Regions from separate parts of the Homo sapiens genome. Here all the other regions are linked to region 1. The links are contacts of gene promoters, found by promoter capture Hi-C in blood cells and fetal thymus (Javierre and others, 2016). All regions are on one chromosome and are shown on one strand. Each heading gives the region's core, a stretch centred on a gene start or on the middle of the fragment in contact. The rest is flanking DNA. Distances are from core to core; before and after follow the strand shown.

Region 1 (2,729 bases), core at 71-2,570:
GCTGGGGTACAGGTTGAAAGCACGACCTGCCCTGATATGCTGTTGACGCTGAGCATGAAGCGACCTTCTCTGTGCCTGTTATTAATGAAAGGTAATATTCACTGAACACTTAGTATACACCAGAGACTGTTACAGCCACTGTAGGAGTTTCACCTCATTCTATCCTTTCAACAACCCAATACGATAGATGCTATTATCCTCTTTAGGATAAAATCGAGGAAACTGAGGTACAGTGAAGTCAGCATCTTGCCCAAGGTGACACAGCTATAAAGTGACAGAGCCTAGAGGAAATGTGGCTGTGGAGACCGTGCTCTTACACAGTAAGGGCAGTGACGGTGAACTCTGGATTGCAAGGATTCTCTGTGTCCATTCTGAGATGAATCAAGATTGGTCATAAGGTTTTAAGTGTTGAATCTGGGTGATGGAGATCTGGTCTATAGAGTTCTATCTACTTCTGGCTGTTTGAAATTTCTCCGCAATAAAAACTTAAATGGAATGTAAAATCCCAAAGCCTGGCCACACCAGGGGCCTGGGAATCCGTAATTCTTGCGATCAATGACGGTCCCTGGGACCTTTGGAAAAAACCTGTCCTGTGCGTCCCAGCCAGACTTCCTCCTCCAACGCCCGAACCCGGGGGTGACCAACCAAAGTGAAACCCTAAGATCGCGGCAAAATGGCCACCCCAGATCCAGTCTAACCTTGGCTTGTTTGGTCAAGCCAGACCGCTCCTCATTCCACTCCAGCAAAGCCGAAGAATAGTGTGGCCCCAAGAGACTAGCCCTCAACCGACCAATGCCTCGGGGACACATGGCCCCAGGGATGGTTCCCATTCCACCACCTGGGAAATACCATTCCCCCAAAAAGCTTATTTATTCAACTCCCCCAAAACCGGGGACTTATGGCATCAGCGACTCCCTTTCCCAATACCCGACTTCAGCCAAAGCCGAACCTGTCCCCACCCACAAGAACCCTAGGAGAGAGAGCCCGATCCCCCACTCATCACCATCCAGTTTCACGGATGGGCTTCACCCAACTCCCCTGGAGATGCACGCCCACACCCCCAAAATAAGACATCTGGGAGAGGACGGCCTGCGCCACGCCAGCGCGTTCCCACCACAATCACCACCCCCGCGCCACCCGCACGGTCCCCAAATTCAGCCCATAGTCCAGCCTTTCGGGACCTTCCTTTTCGCGCAGAAAAGGGTACGGCTGCGGCAAGGGTCCCGCGGGAGCCTCACTCACCAGCGCCACCAAAGAACAAGGGGTCGCTCCAGCCACCAGCTGGGGAGCTCCTCCAGCGGGGCGCCAGGACTACACTACCCCGAATCCTCGGCACAGCGCCCGGACCACACCTCCCAGGATGCTCGGCGCCACCAGGCGCGCCCTGAAGGCCGGCAGCTCCCATTGGCCTCTGACGGATCCGTTTCTGAGTAACACGCTCCGGTCACCGGAGAATGGCCACTGTGGCACCTGAATTCTCCCTCTTTTTTCTTAACCACGTGCATAAAACACGTAGGAGCTCCCGAGAAGAGTGCCTGGCCCTACTGTGACCCTCCTTCTGAGCGCCTCTGTCTCGAAAACTACACTTCCCAGTGACCCCTGGAGCGACTTCCGCACCCGGTACCGGCCCCGCCCCTTGGCGCGCGGAAATGACGTTTCGGGGCGCATCTGTTCGGCTTCTGGGGTTGGCGGAGGTGTACCGCTGGCTGACCAAGCTTGTTCAGGTGCTGGTTTGTGTTGCAGCGGCCTGTGGTCTCCCTGGCTCCAGCCGCCTGCTTGGAAAGTCACGCCCCATATTCCTAAACACCGGGCGAACGTCATGTCGTATACCCTTTAGCTCCATTTAAAGCCTTGAAAAGGCCGAGCAGTCTGCCTGAAGTCTCACATCCCGTACGAGGTAGACCCGATTCTGAGCCCACGCCCTCAACCCGAATACACCTTTTCCGGTGCCCTGAGACCTTTTTCTTCTTTTTGAAATCCACGAAGTTATTGTTAAACTCTCATCTCCTGAGAAGCAGAAGCCTCAGTCTCGGGCCAGAGCTTGGCCTGCCGTCGGCTTGGATCTCTAGGTCTTTGTCCGGGATCCTGGTTGAGAACAAGATTGCGCTGGTGCCATCTGGGACGCCCCATCTGGGGAGCTCGAGGGGAAGGCCCACGTCACTCTTGAGAGGGCTTTTCCACCCGTGCACCCTCTCACTGCCCTTCACCTTCCTCAGATAGGCTTTCTGAAACTTTGTCATTCTCTTGGAAGACCAAGAAAATGACCACTGTCTGAAGGGCCAGGGAGATGAGAATTTCCTAAAATTCTTTTGTAGCTCTCAGAGGGTGAATCCATTCCCTTCTGGTACCCCGAGGCTACATTATTTATTGTGAATTCAGTTCAGTCCTGGCTCCGGAGACATGTCCAGTGTCAATTGGATTCATCCCTCAACATCATTCTCTGCCTCATGAGTCAGTCATCACCAAGAAATTAGTTGTTAATACACATAAAGGTTCAGAACAACAATGCAGGGATGCCTGTGTTCAAGTGTTCACTTGTGCTGGCTGTACAATAAAGACACAGATGGCTGACATCTCTTAAGCCTGGAAATGAAGACTTACAGGATGAGGTGCTGCCTGAGGAATTAGGCAAGATGAGGAGTTGGAAGAACACAGACGAGTAAGGAAGAGTGTAGGAAGTGTGAACAGAATCTCAGGGTCTGAGCCACTGGGTGGACTGTCATGACCAC
Region 2 (2,729 bases), core at 153-2,652, 8.3 Mb after region 1:
TTGGAAACTGAGGCTAAGTGCAAAGCACTAAGTCCATTAATGGGTTCTGTATAATTGATTAGTTCAGGGTATCCAAGCTTGGTCAGCTTCTCTATCTGCTTCTTGTCTTTGTTCCGCACACATTGAAGAACTTTGTAGATCTGTAAGTTCTCAAGTCTCTTATCTGCTAAAGCCATGCTTGACCAGCTCCTTGAAAATGCTTTCTGGACCAAAACTAAAGCTGAAGCAACAAAAAAGAAAAATAACTCAAAGTTAATTTTATCATCTTCATTTTGATTAAATAACAATATTTTGGAACTTCCTTAAGAACAGAGATTGTTTTTTAAGAAATGTTCAGAAAGTAGGATTTATACATAAATATCAAAAATATTGAGTGGGCATAAAGTTAAAACAGTTCAAACAAATCTTCCATCATAATTAAAAATAGTTTGCCAGGTGGTTTTCTTATTATCCATTTAACCTTCCCTCCTCATCACACTTTACCATTTTACCATGAAGAAGCTGAGGTTAACTAAATTGCCATGGTAAGGGTTTGAGTTCCCACCATCTATCTACATGGTTTCACACCAGCAAAATAGAGAGATCATGCAGGTTTTAATAGTTTTAAGGTGTTATAAAAACATATAATTTTGAGGTGTTCATTATAAACAAATCTACTGGGCTCTGTAACATATCAGAGATGTGATGAGTGATTCCTATGTCATCTTAAGTGGAAAAGATGTAGTTAAATGGCTGCAAGGAAACTGCAAATCTTCATAAACAATCTCCCTGTTAAATTGTGATGGGCATTCTAGTATGTAATTTTACCTCCTTGTACGGAAAATCTTTTGGATTGAGTAGCAGGCCATGCTAGGTATGACCAGTTGTTTCTTCATTTCTTATGAGAAAAGAACTCCATTATCACATAGGGAATCCTATCCGGGTCGTTTGGATGGGGCTGTCCCTTCTGTCCCCTGCCAGAGGAAAGCGTCTGTGGCCTAGGCTTGGCCCATTTGAGGGAACCATCCCTTTCCAGGTACACTGAAGCTCAAGCATATGTGCATAAAAGACATCAACCAATCAGCAGCCCATCATCCAGAACTATGAGGGAAGACTATTCTGCTGAAGTTGTTAAGCAGTATGGTGTGGGGCTGGGGCGCAGGTAGCTCTCTTGGGTGCCACAGAGAGAGTCCATGCTTGGAGGATGGAGAGAGACTGAGATTGATGGCATTAGTTGCAACATGGATTCCATGGTGCCAGAAGCCATCTACCACTTTGTGGGTAAATACATCTTCTCCCCCGTCACCTTATTTTGGTATAAGCTAGTTAGCTAAGTTTCCAACATTTGCAATGAAAAGATTCCATCTTACTACAAAAGTTGAAACTATGCACCATTTTTCTCCATCGCAAGCCTGCTCCCTCACCTACATTCTCTACGGCAGTGAGCTCTCTCTCCTTTAAATGTGTCTCTCTAGGCACCACAACATCTCCATCGCCTGCTTCCATCCAACACCAATGCCCCCTCCTGCTCAGGCTCCTTTGCTGACTCCCCATTTCAAGAAGCCTATGTTGGGTGCCCAGGGCTAGGTCCTCAAGACTCTTTTCTGTCCTCACACACTCCCCTGGTGTCTCGCCCTATCCCATGACCCTCGACCCTCAGCCCAACTCTCACTCTGTCACCCAGGCTGGAGTGTAGTGGCACAATCTCGGCTCACTGCAACCTCCACCTCCTGGGTTCAAGCGATTCTCCTGCCTCAGCCTCCCGAGTAGCTGGGATTACAGGTGCCCACCACCACACCTGGCTAATTTTTGTATTTTTAGTAAAGACAGGGTTTCACCATGTTGGCCAGGCTGATCTTGAACTCTTGACCTCAGGTGATCCACCCGCCTCAGCCTCCCAAAGTGTTGGGACTACAGGCGTGAGCCACCGGGCCAGGCCTCCTTTGCCTTTTAATCTGTTTATAACATGCGGTGGACTAGGGAACCAACTGAGGCTGCCTCAGAGTCATCCACTTGGACTTTGCTGCACGGCTTGGTGACACTCACCTTAGCTGCTATTTATGGCTTGTTTTATTATTATCGGCCATATTCCGATTAGGTGCGGTGTCATCATACTGCATATGTATATGTGTCATCTATGGAATAGGGCAAGATGCTCCTACATAGGTAATGATTAGACTGAATCAATGCCACTTGATTTGTGAAAATAAGGATTTCCCAATCAGGGACTTCAATGTTGCCTCTGTTAGCACCCATCTCTAACGGAGAATTAATTAGCAGCTACAGTGATGAATTCAGTAGGTCCATGGGTCGGTTTCCTGTGGACTGCCTCCCTCCCAGCTAAAGCCCTGAAGTGCTGGGGAGAGGGCAGCACCCTGTATAGTGTCCTTCACAATCAACTGCTAAGACTGACCAAGAGCTCACCCCACTGCAGGAAATCACACAAGTGTAGCCCTTGGGTCCTGGGTTCCTTGTAAATTGAGCAGCATATAGGATCCTCCACATACAAGCACACCTGTACTTTTCCCCAGCATGACCCTGGGCCACCTTAGTCACATCTAACCATCTACCAAGGTAGTGGAATAGAGCAGAATGTCTTGACTTGAGGTCCATGTTCGGGGTCTGAATACTCGGAAATTACATGAAAATCTGTGGGAATCTGTGTGTGTTCAGGTCATTTAACTCTCAAAGGGGGGCTGTGCGACAAGGAAGGATCATTAGAAAGAGGAATGGAGGAAGACAAGCTTGGT
Region 3 (2,729 bases), core at 108-2,607, 5.1 Mb before region 1:
CTCAGCATAGTATTTTTCCTTCTCCGGAGATTGATTGATAGCCAGAGCCTCCTGTTTGATTAACGGTAACGCTGCTGCTGTTTAAGTCAGGCGTCCTTTGGGAATCCCTTTAATTTCCTGTAATTCTTCCGTGCTCTCCTAAGGAGGATTTTAAATTCCAACCTCTCAAAAAGCAGAGCCCGCACTGACAGCCCGGAAGAATTCTGGGCTGTTGAATATGTGAATGATTCAGCTGTTTAGGATGAGAAAGGCAGAAATTTTGTGTGTGCCTGTTTCGTTGTTTTCTTTTGAAAGTGAAAGATCCTTTGCTGTTACCAAGAGCAGATACTTAACCCATTGCATGACTAGACACGATTTTATTTCTGTACACATTCAGTTCAGACTCTATTTCAGAAGACAGACATAATGGGCTCTTAGCTTGTTTTGCCAACTTCATTCTTTTGGCTATAAATTATAATACTTTACCGCTATTGATACGTCTTTAGGAAATGCTTAAGGACAAGTTGCATGCAGTACGCATAACTGCAGAAATGCATAAAGGCTGCAAAAATGCAAGAAGATAAGGGTCCCTGTCCTCAGGAACCTCTCAGAGGACGTTTATCACAGCTGGTTTCTAAATTTCTCATGTGATGTGTAGGAGATATAGCTATGAATTATGTTTTGTTTTGCATTTAAAAGTTATGACAGTACCATCAAGTGCTAGCGCCACACTAACTCCTTTTAAATGTTTTGATTCACAAAACATTTAAAATTCACTCTAATAAAATTTAATGTCATAGTACCTCATGCCAGGAGGTTATTTTAATGTTACAACATTATTTCAAGTCAGGAAGTGCTTCCCTGTGGGAGAGTCTGTAACTGGCAGAGGAAAAAGCTTGACAGCACTTGGTGCTTGTCTCAGGAGAACACTCCTTTTGGGAAAGAGGTTTTCGATGTTTTTAGGAAACTAGGCCAAATCTTGAGCTTATAATCCTTAAAGGATTTTGAAAAGCCTTTGTTTTTAAAGAAACATCTCCCTTTTAAATGTTGCTACCTATGTTATTGACAGGACATATAAGAAGACGAATCTTCACCATTCACACTCAGTTACACAAAAGTTAATGCATCTTAGTTCTTACCTGGGTACAACAGGTTGGTTTATTATCTAGCTTTGGGACCTAGGGCAAGTTACTTAGCCTCTCTGTGCTTCAGTTTCCAGTGTATAAAACGGAGACAATAATAGTATATCTCAAAATTTATGGGAGTTCAGTGAGGTTATGTTTATAAAACATTTGGAACCATGGATGTTGGAGACAGTGACCATGAGATATTAATTAGCATATTCATCAAAATTATCAGCTCCAGTTATTTATCAAAGAAGCAGTAGGCCAAACAGATAACTTTTCCAGAATTTCAGAGCCGTAGACTGCATCATTGATTTTTTTTTTTTGAGACGGAGTCTCACACTGTCACCCGGGCTGGATTGCAGTGGCGGGATGTCAACTAACTGCAACCTCCGCCTCCCAGGTTCAAGCGATTCTCCTGCCTCAGTCTCCTGAGTAGCTGGGATTACAGCCACCCGCCACCACGCCCGGCTAATTTTTTTTTTTTTTTTGTATTTTTAGTAGAGACGGGGTTTCACTGTGTTGGCCAGGCTGGTCTCGAATGCCTGACCTCGTGATCCACCTGCCTTGGCCTCCCAAAGTGCTGGGATTACAGACGTGAGCCAGCACGCCCAGCCTCATTGATCTTTTAATGAAATAAAATATCTGAAAGAGCTTTAACCATTAATGTACCATGCAAGTGTGATTTATACTTTGAAGACTGTTATTTCCAGTAATACTTGCTCCAGGAAAGCTTGCAGGAAGAAGAGTACTTAGAATTTTAGGAGTTTAGTAATATTGTATAATTACTGAAGCCAGAAAACAGACGTAGTGTTCCTGTGTCAGTAGGACAATTAAGATTCTGTATCAATTTTAGATGTTTAGAATCCTACCTTATAGATGGCATGTATCATCACCTTTCTAGACTGGAATACATGTTATTCCACCCTGCCCCTGCCTTCTTAGCTATAGAATGTCACCATTTTCATTCCTAAAGGTCTGCATGTAATCCTTTATTTAAAACGCAGAGTAATCCATCTCTATGTCAGACTCCAGAATTAATGTAATACAAAATTAATAAAACACACATACTGACTTGAATATCATCAGAGCTCATATATTTAAGAGCTGACTAGCTGGTGCTTTAAAGAGGATAAGCCATCTGTTTTCAGGTTGTGGCAGTCATTAAAAGCTGCTTGGCATATTGCAGATATTTCACATCACAGACATTCTGAATGCTCTATCTGCAGATTAAAGCCTGTCATGAGTTCTCTAGTGTTTACCACTCACAGTGGTTTTGTGGCAATACTGTATTCTTAGTAGTATTCTATAGCTTTTGTTTCTTGCTTTCAGTAAAATTAGATGAAAATATGCATATGTATTTATGAGAACATGTCAGTCAAATATTTCTTCTCTGTGTAAGGCACAAATCCTCTGCCTTATCTGCTTGATAGGTAAGGTATCAATATTCCTTTCCCATCCCCACCTTCCTCCCCAGGAAAAGAGCTGACAAGGGATGCAAACATTGCAGGAAACCACTGTTGTGGTGGTTTGTGTTTCTGCTTAATTGCCCGTTAAGCAGTAATGTGCTTTTGTAGTTGTGGAATTAAAACTTTTTCTCAAGTTTGTAGTATAGTACGTTTAGTA
Region 4 (2,729 bases), core at 68-2,567, 5.1 Mb before region 1:
CGGCCCCTGAATCCCCGAGGCTCACGGGGCCAGAGCCCTTCCAGGAGACGCTGCTACCCGCAGCCCAGTCCACGGCCACAAGGGCCGGGGTTTCCAGTGGGGCTTAAATCCGCCGCTGTCCTCGCCGCCCTCACGGCACCTCCCACCCTTCCCGCGCCACTTGGCCGCCCCAGCGCCCGGACGCCGCTCGGCCACTCCAAAGACGACCCAGAGAACAAACTACTGCAGCCACAGAGAAGCCCCTCCTCGGCCCGACGCGCCGCCTCCCGACGCGGGCATCCGGGGCCGCGTGGATCAGGCCCTCGGGCCGCCCCCTGCCCCCGCTCCCGCATCCCCGAGACGCGCAGGTCCACAGAGCAGCCGGGGCGCGCGGACAAAGAGGCGGCGGCGGGCGGCGAGGGGCCGGAGCCAGGCCTACGGGCCGCGCACTCACCTCCCAGCCGGCGCCCCCGCTGCAGCCGCTGTCCGCTGGACCAGGCCGGTAGGAACGGCCGGCCCGGCTGGGCGTGGCGTAGCACCCTGCGCGGGCACCGCCGATTGGTCGCTGCAGGCCCCTCCCCTCCCGCGGCCGGCCCCGCCCCTGGCGGGGCTGAGGAAGGGGCTGAGCCACACGTCGGGCGGCGGAGCGGTTCGGGCAGTTACCTGATCTGGCCGCGCGACTGACTGGCGACGCCGGATTGCGTCACCCGCCGCATTGCGTCACCCGCCGCGAGCCAAGGCCTGCGCCTGCGCAGGAGACAGCGACGTCTGCGCTGCGGCACGCCACAGGGGGGCGGGGCCAGTCGCGAAAAGTCACGTGAGCGTCAGATTCGCGTGGTCACTTTCGCGTCCATTCCGGGCTTCTGGCCGCAAGGCGCCAGCGCTTCCGGGCCCCAGCAGCCTGCGGTCAGGGCCTGCAGCTGGCTTCCCACTAAGAGCTGCTCACGTCCCCGAGGCCGAGCGCACCCTTAGGGCACGGTGGCCACGCGAGGGACCTCGCGGAAAGCCGGGCTTGGAGCTGGTACTCACCTTGGCTACTAGGGGCGCAGATGCCTCCACGGGCGCTGGAGAACTGGCGCCAGGCGGGGCTCGGCGCGGCGCTCTCCTCTGGGGCGCTTCTTCCGCGGTGCCCCCGCCCTGCTGGGGGGCTCGGCGCGCCAGGAGCCGGGACCGCACCCTGCCGTCTTTACTGCAGGGCTTTATTTCCAGGAGTTCCCATTCGGGCGAAAGCTTTGTTCACTACAGAACTTCCCCAGAGACCCATCCACTCTTCGGGGAAAGCACAATTGATTCCCTAAGATTCGCTGACTCCTCGAAATCTTGCTGTTTCCACCAATTCTTGCTCAATACTAACTAAAGCCCGCTTTGAAACACCTTCCTTGAGTCAGACTTCCAGTTCTCAATAAACTGACCTTGCCTTTTGCTCCCAGCCATTGGTAAAGCTTTGCCAGGTCATGCTGTCCCTTACTGTGGCCAGCAGTTAACTCAGCCTTGTCTTACCGACACGTTGAGTTTGTAATGTTTGGGGACTGTCAGGACAAATACAAATTTAAAATAAGGTTTACTACTTCCTGTTGAAAATATGAGATTTCCCTCCCTTTTTCTTCGAACATTTACTTTTAGAAAATTGGTAATTAGTGTAAGTACTTTTTCCTCTCTTTGAAATATATAAATCCTTTTGAAGACTAGTTAGGCCTTTTTGTGCGCTTTATAACCTAGATATGTCTTTTTCTAGGACCTAGGAGCCATCTCTTTAAGTATCAAGGGAGTTAATGCCCCTGTCTCCCAGTTTTAATGGGGGAGTAGGAGCCTAACTTCAGTGGGCCCTTTGCTCCAACTTACAAAATTATCTCATATCATAAAGATACAAGTTTCTTTTTCCTCTAGATAAAGCCAATTGGCTAACACAGAGGATCATCCCAAATATCAGGTTAGATGAACTGTGTGTGATGAAAAATGCTGCCAAGTTCCCTTGAGAGCTAGTTATTGTTTATCTTGAAAATGTGTGTAATAGATTGCTTGGCTGCACAAAAGAGTGAGATTTCGTTCTGTCTTTGCAGTCTCTTAATGGATTGCCTGTGATGGGTATCACATTCTAGTTTAATGCTTATTCAATTACAAAGTGTTTTCTTTCTCCACTACCTTTCTGAAGAGGGTTGGGAGATTGTACTTTTAATTATATTTCCTGAACAGGAGCCAGCTTCCCACACATAGTAGGTGCTCAATAAATATTTGAAGAATGAATGAGTGACAGAAATCTTTCTTAGGCCGACTCTCTATATTTGCATTCCATGATTTGAAGAAATTGGAATGAACGCAGTTTTCACCCATGGCTCCAGCAGGCCCAGAATCGTGTTTTATGATTTTGTTTTGCATTACAAAAAGGTGGTCAGGCACGGTGGCTCACGCCTGTAATCCCAGCACTTTGGGAGGCCGAGGCGGGCCGATCACTTGAGGTCAGGAGTTGAAGACCAGCCTGGCCAACATGGTGAAACCCCGTCTCTGCTAAAATACAAAAATTAGGCCAGGTGCGGTGGCTCACACCTGTAATTCTAGCACTTTGGGAGGCTGAAGTGGGCGGATCACCTGAGGTCAGGAGTTCAAGACCAGCCTGGACAACATGGTGAAACCCTTTCCCTGCTAATAATACAAAAATTAGCTGGGCGAGGTGGTACATGCCTTTAATCCCAGCTATTCAGGAGACTGAGGCAGGAGAATCGCTTGAACATGGGAGGCAGAGGTTGCAGTGA

The links. The method cuts DNA at HindIII sites, captures the fragments that hold promoters and counts their contacts. A CHiCAGO score of 5 or more calls a contact.
Region 2: a fragment that was not itself captured here is called in contact with the fragment with the promoter of ZNF133 in region 1 in 2 of 17 cell types (total CD8 T cells and naive CD4 T cells); the score reaches 11.0 in total CD8 T cells.
Region 3: a contact is called between a fragment that was not itself captured here and the fragment with the promoter of ZNF133 in region 1, in 3 of 17 cell types (total CD8 T cells, non-activated CD4 T cells and activated CD4 T cells). The highest score is 9.1, in total CD8 T cells.
Region 4: a contact is called between a fragment that was not itself captured here and the fragment with the promoter of ZNF133 in region 1, in 2 of 17 cell types (naive CD8 T cells and naive CD4 T cells). The highest score is 13.0, in naive CD8 T cells.

What each region holds. Positions count from the first base shown.
Region 1 is chr20:18,287,118-18,289,846 of GRCh38, reverse strand. It overlaps ZNF133 (zinc finger protein 133), which reads right to left and starts at 1,320. Exons shown (of 7, transcript NM_001352452.2): 1 at 1,243-1,320. RefSeq lists enhancers at 588-707, 1,268-1,607, 713-1,618, 1,698-1,747. The HindIII fragment of the contact is 851 bases long and covers 867-1,717 here.
Region 2 is chr20:10,035,749-10,038,477 of GRCh38, reverse strand. ANKEF1 (ankyrin repeat and EF-hand domain containing 1) reads right to left here. Exons shown (of 11, transcript NM_022096.6): 3 at 1-220. The coding sequence starts at 176. The region is part of intron 3 of SNAP25-AS1 (SNAP25 antisense RNA 1); the gene reads left to right. Among named protein-coding and RNA genes, the nearest start is that of ANKEF1, 2.1 kb to the right of the region's middle. The HindIII fragment of the contact is 2,646 bases long and covers 80-2,725 here.
Region 3 is chr20:23,417,647-23,420,375 of GRCh38, reverse strand. All of the region lies in intron 1 of NAPB (NSF attachment protein beta), which reads left to right. Among named protein-coding and RNA genes, the nearest start is that of NAPB, 2.5 kb to the left of the region's middle. The HindIII fragment of the contact is 962 bases long and covers 877-1,838 here.
Region 4 is chr20:23,359,942-23,362,670 of GRCh38, reverse strand. It overlaps GZF1 (GDNF inducible zinc finger protein 1), which reads right to left and starts at 489. Exons shown (of 6, transcript NM_022482.5): 1 at 434-489. RefSeq lists silencers at 204-693, 1,114-1,203 and an enhancer at 764-1,023. The HindIII fragment of the contact is 212 bases long and covers 1,212-1,423 here.